Linked DNA regions of Homo sapiens: region 2 is linked to region 1. The links are contacts of gene promoters, found by promoter capture Hi-C in human tissues and cell types (Jung and others, 2019). All regions are on one chromosome and are shown on one strand. Each heading gives the region's core, a stretch centred on a gene start or on the middle of the fragment in contact. The rest is flanking DNA. Distances are from core to core; before and after follow the strand shown.

Region 1 (2,700 bases), core at 33-2,532:
CTAGAAGGAAGAAGTGAAATCACATGTCTGGAATCCCTAAGACCCTAGTTTTTAATATTTTGCTTCATCATTCATATTTCAGCACTTCCTAATATTTTTCATATCATGGCACAAATAGAGAACTATAATATTTATGTGGCACACTGAGTGAAAGAATACAGTACCCATGATCATGATCAAAGATATCCAGTCCACAGCTCCAGCCAGCCAGCTGCCCCCAAAAGTTAAGGGTTTCACTCCTTTAGTATGCTTATAACTAACCCATTCATGGCCAGGGCAGTATCAATTGGTATTGGGATGCTTCATGCCTGTATCATGCCATTATTCCCTAATATTTTACCCAGAAAAAACATGGGCCATTATAGGGATGTTTTAAAAGAAAAGGAGAGAACCAACATAAATACAGACTTTTACATACATTATATTTCATTTGATCTGCACATTAGCCTATGGGGCATTATATCATTTTGCAGGTGAAAAAAAAAAAAACCCTGAGTTTTGAAAACTTGAATTGACTCAAGATCATCCAATGAGAGTCAGAGCTAGGACTCAAATACAGACCTTGTCTAACTCCCAAACCTTTACAGCCCCTCTGAGATCAAAATGGGAAAGTAAGCTGGAATTGCCCTGGTCCCTCACGCATACCCTGGCCAGCACACACAGGGCAGGCATTCGGGAGGGGCAGCAGACTCACTCATATCTCCAGGGGGAGATGGCCCTGCTGTTGAGGGGTCCATCTTCACTGGCCCTACAGGACTCTGGGTGGCGGTTGGGCCTAGCAGGCTCTAGGGGAGGCACAGGCACAGTGCTCCACCTCAGCAGCTCCTCAGAGGTGTCCTGCCCTTTGCTGGGGCAGCAGCTGGGCCAGTGGCTGTAGGTGTGGGTTCCCATGACCATTGCCAAGAATGCAACCACCTGTAGGAAAAGGCTAATGAGAGAACTGTCCTCACCTAATCTGGGTCGCTCCCTCATCTGCACCCTCCCCCTGGGATCCCAGTTTCTCACTCCACTTGGCCCCCAGCCCCAAACCTGGCAGCTTGGCCTCCCTCCACCCTCAGCAGCATCTCTGCTCCTCTCCCTCTCAGCACAGCCCTCAGGCAGCCCTCTGCACTGACCTGGTACATGCTGGGCACTGCACACTCAGTCACAAGTGGGGCACTGACTGACAGGCCTCGTGGAAGCAGGCTGACTGGAGCAGGTTAGGAGTCCTGATTTTATTTTCAGCAAGCCTGTTTTGTTTATTCAAATTTATTTCCACTGTCTTTTTAGGGAGTGACTTGAGGTTAAAAAACAAAACCAAAAAAACTCTGAAAGTATTTCCAAAGGCTGCTTAAAATGCAATACTCATGGAAGTTGTGATGACCATCATTATATGCCTGGTAGCTGATTGGGTAAACTTTGCTCTTTGAATTTTTCTGGCCATGGGGTCAAAGCAATAACAGTCTGCTGTTCTGCATTCTTGTGAACTGGCATTAGCGGGATTTCCCTGGTTGGTTTGGTAGCCAAAATTAGGAAATGTCTTGTGGCCTCCCTTCAAGAGGCCTCGTTTCCATGATCCCTGCTCCCCCCATCCAGGGTCTGGTTTCACCATTCCCCTCTTCCCAGGTGTCCCTCTGATCATCCACCTTCGTGATTATTTCCTTTCCCTTAGACATCCTTTGACTCCCATCCCCTTTGTTCTCTGACCTCTTCCACATTTTCAATGACCCCAAAATTCTATGACCCCCATCAGCTATGACTTCTCCCCCATTGTCCATGACCCACTCCCTAACTCCCCCTTGCCCTCGCCAGTCACTGCCCCCCACCGGGGATACAAGCCTACCCTCACAGGGCTGCTGGAAGACCCTGACTTCCTAAGTTTGTTGGCTGGATGGGCAAGGTCTGATGGAAGAAGCTGTGGGTGAGTGTCCCCATTGCACAAATGAGAAGGTGAAGCAAGGAAGAGGAGGGAAACTGAAACAGCCTCACCTAAGACCCAACAGGAAGGAGGTCTCAGTTCCAGGAACCAACCTGCTCTCATTCACAGAGCCTTGGGGACCAAGCCCATGACAGGGTCAGCTACTGCTTTCAGGCCATGAAGTGAGCCCACTCAGCCTCAGCAGGTCCAGAAACATGGGCCACTGTTAGCCAGGAGGGTGTATGTGTGCCCCAGAAAGGCTTACAGTTGGGCTTGACCCCAAAGACACAGGTCAGCCGGGTCCAGCCTGCTTGGGAGACACTGTGCTGAGAGTGGGCCAGTGTGTCCTTCCCCCCAGGTCCTTCTCTTCATGCTTGCCTATTGGCCTGCCTCATCCCCCATACGCACCCAACATACCCATACACAGACATTGCCCCTAGAATGATGTGGCTTGATTTGCATGTGCTTTCCCTTAGAAAATACTCCTCTAGTAACCAAGGACTAGGAAATCAACAAAGGGAACCAGGAATAACTTAAACTGCAGTGAGAGGAATCTTTCCAATGCGTTAGGGCAAAGCAGCCCCAAAAGAGAGAAGTGATGAAGTCAAAGGGCAATCTGGAAAATTGGGAGAAACTGCTCTGCTCTGATGAGTCTTGGGGCACCTGGAACTGTGGGATGGAGGGCACTTAGAAGAAGCAGGTGGTGGCTGGGAAAGCAGGGGCACTCAGGAACAGTGATGAGGCCAGTATCATGGCCCCACTCTCACTGCCTCACCCTCTGCCCCCAGTACTCGCAGACGTCC
Region 2 (2,721 bases), core at 1-2,500, 1.1 Mb before region 1:
CGTTTTCCTTGGGGCCCTCCAGCTGCAGCCAGATGTGGGGGTTGTCCGGACAGTCCTTCGGAAGGACGCTCACCCCCACGCTGAAGATGCGCTCCACATGGGGCTGCTGTTCCCGAACCTTGTTCTCAGCCTCCGCAGACACCGCAAAGCGATCTGGGGACGCGGGGCGGGCCCCCCAGGTAGGCATGGCTGCTGCCCCCAGCCCTGGAAGGGGAGAAGGCAGCTCAGAGCCTCATTGTACCCTCCATCCAAATCCTGGTTCCTGGGACTACACCAGCTATCAACAGGTCGCACCTAGTTAAGGCTCTGGTAAACAGCCCCAGGAGGTGACAAGCATCTGAGTCCACTGGAGGTAGGGAGGGTGTATGTCACGCAGGCCTCTCCGGAGAGGAAGTCCCGGTAAACAAGGCTGTCTATCGAGAGTGGGCGTCTGGGCTTTGGAAAAGGATGACCACAGTCCGGAGCAAGAAGGGTGGGGGGGCTCCAGCTCGGCCTGGAGGCCAGAAGGAGTCTCCTGGGGCACTCTGAAGCTTCTTAAGGACGAATCCTCAGCAGGGGATTGAACTAGGCTGTCCTCTGGGGGCCCTGGTCTGCCATTTCCAAGGTTCAAGCCACTCCCACCCCTCCCCCAGCCGTCCGCTGCCCCTCTCCGTCGGGCCAGGAGCACCGCCCAGGGCCCAGGGGCCGGGCCGGGCCGGGCCCGCCCACCGCGGACTGGGGCAGCCACCCCGGGCCGGGCCTACTCCGCACCGCGGCCCCCGCTCCCCGCTCCCGGGCGCGGTGGAGGGGCGCGCCTACCGCCTCCGCCGCCCGCGCCGGCTTCAGGTCCTCTCAGCGCCCGCCAGGCCCCCGCTTTGCCCGCGCCCCCAGCCCAGGGGACAAGGGCAGGGGGCCCGAATCTGGGCGGGCCTTCCCGGGTTCCTCACCCAGCGGGGACCTCTCTTGTCCACATCGCACGCAAACTGTTTCTTGAGTCACTTCCTGGCCTGGGGCGGAGTCAGCCCAGCTCCTCCCGGCTGCGCGCCCTCCTCCCAACCCCGCCGCCGCGCCCAGAGGCCCCGACGGGCCCGCTCGGCCTAGTCCCCTCGGCGGCTCCAGGGCTCGCCCCTTGCGCTTCTCACCAGCCCTCCCGTCTGTCTCCCGGCCCTCAGGGTCCTCGCGCATTCTGCGCAGTTACTTCTCGGAAAGGGGAACCATGCGTTGAAAGTTGTTTCCCGCGAATAAAGATGTGGCCGACCAAAGAGGCAGCGTGACTGGCCCACTGGTGCTCTAGGCCCAAGCACTTTCCACCAAAGCAATCGTGGCGGAGGGGGTAGGCGGGAGGCGGGAGGCGGAGGGTACCCGTGGTGGAGTACCCCTTTCTTCCAACAAACGGAAAGATGCCACGAAGAAGGGCTGTTGATTTGTGGGGGATTTTGAAGAGAGGAAGAGTAGGAGGAAGGGGTTGAGGGGCTGCCTCTGGCATATGCACACACTCACACATTCTGTCACACCCGTCACACACACATACCATGTTCTCCATCCCCCCAGGTCCAGCCCTCAGTGCTGTCCCATCCAGCAGGGCTGCCCTGAAGCTCTGGCTGCAGCCCTCCCGTCCAGTGGGCAGGCGGCTTCATCCCTCCTTTCTCTCCCAAAGCCCAACTGCTGTCACTGCATGCTCTGCCAAGGAGGAGGGAACTGCAGTGACAGCAGGAGTAAGAGTGGGAGGCAGGACAGAGCTGGGACACAGGTATGGAGAGGGGGTTCAGCGAGCCTAGAGAGGGCAGACGATCAGGGTGCCGGCGGTGAGAATCCAGGGAGAGGAGCGGAAACAGAAGAGGGGCAGAAGACCGGGGCACTTGTGGGTTGCAGAGCCCCTCAGCCATGTTGGGAGCCAAGCCACACTGGCTACCAGGTCCCCTACACAGTCCCGGGCTGCCCTTGGTTCTGGTGCTTCTGGCCCTGGGGGCCGGGTGGGCCCAGGAGGGGTCAGAGCCCGTCCTGCTGGAGGGGGAGTGCCTGGTGGTCTGTGAGCCTGGCCGAGCTGCTGCAGGGGGGCCCGGGGGAGCAGCCCTGGGAGAGGCACCCCCTGGGCGAGTGGCATTTGCTGCGGTCCGAAGCCACCACCATGAGCCAGCAGGGGAAACCGGCAATGGCACCAGTGGGGCCATCTACTTCGACCAGGTAATCCCCCTACCCCTGTCCAGGGGACCTGGAAAGACCCTGCAAGGACCTGGAAGCAACTGTCCAAGCCCACTTTGCTGTCTCTGAGGCTTTAAGAAAACAGCTTCCTACATCTTTCACTAATCTGGCCTATTGCCCCACCACCCCACCGACGGTTTCCCCTCCCTCCACCCATACGCAGCCCTCTCCTTGCCCCTTCTCACCATTTCTTTTGAATCTGTTCACTCCTATTCACTCCTACTTGCCACTCCTTCTATTCATTACTCACTGCCCCTGCCCCTAGTCCCCATGGTACCCCTGAGCCATGGGCATTTCCTGAGCCCCACTCAGCAGGCTCTGCTTCCCCCAGGTCCTGGTGAACGAGGGCGGTGGCTTTGACCGGGCCTCTGGCTCCTTCGTAGCCCCTGTCCGGGGTGTCTACAGCTTCCGGTTCCATGTGGTGAAGGTGTACAACCGCCAAACTGTCCAGGTGACCTCAGCACTGGCCCCCATCCCCGGCTCAGGAGGGTGGGGAGGGGGAAGAAGGGGAGCCCAGCTGACCTCCGGGTGGACTCTCCA

The links. Contacts are between HindIII fragments. The study calls those that stand out against the background at their distance.
Region 2: a contact is called between the fragment with the promoter of CBLN3 here and the fragment with the promoter of IL25 in region 1, in 1 of the 25 tissues and cell types used here (mesenchymal stem cells).

Annotation. Positions count from the first base shown.
Region 1 is chr14:23,371,391-23,374,090 of GRCh38, reverse strand. It overlaps IL25 (interleukin 25), which reads right to left and starts at 1,282. Exons shown (of 3, transcript NM_172314.2): 1 at 1,116-1,282; 2 at 695-915. The coding sequence starts at 1,124. The HindIII fragment of the contact is 4,168 bases long and covers 1-2,034 here.
Region 2 is chr14:24,428,197-24,430,917 of GRCh38, reverse strand. It overlaps CBLN3 (cerebellin 3 precursor), which reads left to right and starts at 1,250. Exons shown (of 3, transcript NM_001039771.3): 1 at 1,250-2,163; 2 at 2,513-2,632. The coding sequence starts at 1,864. KHNYN (KH and NYN domain containing) reads right to left here and starts at 964. Exons shown (of 8, transcript NM_015299.3): 1 at 799-964; 2 at 1-204. The coding sequence starts at 187. RefSeq lists enhancers at 1-233, 378-557 and a silencer at 588-1,127. The HindIII fragment of the contact is 5,614 bases long and covers 1-2,721 here.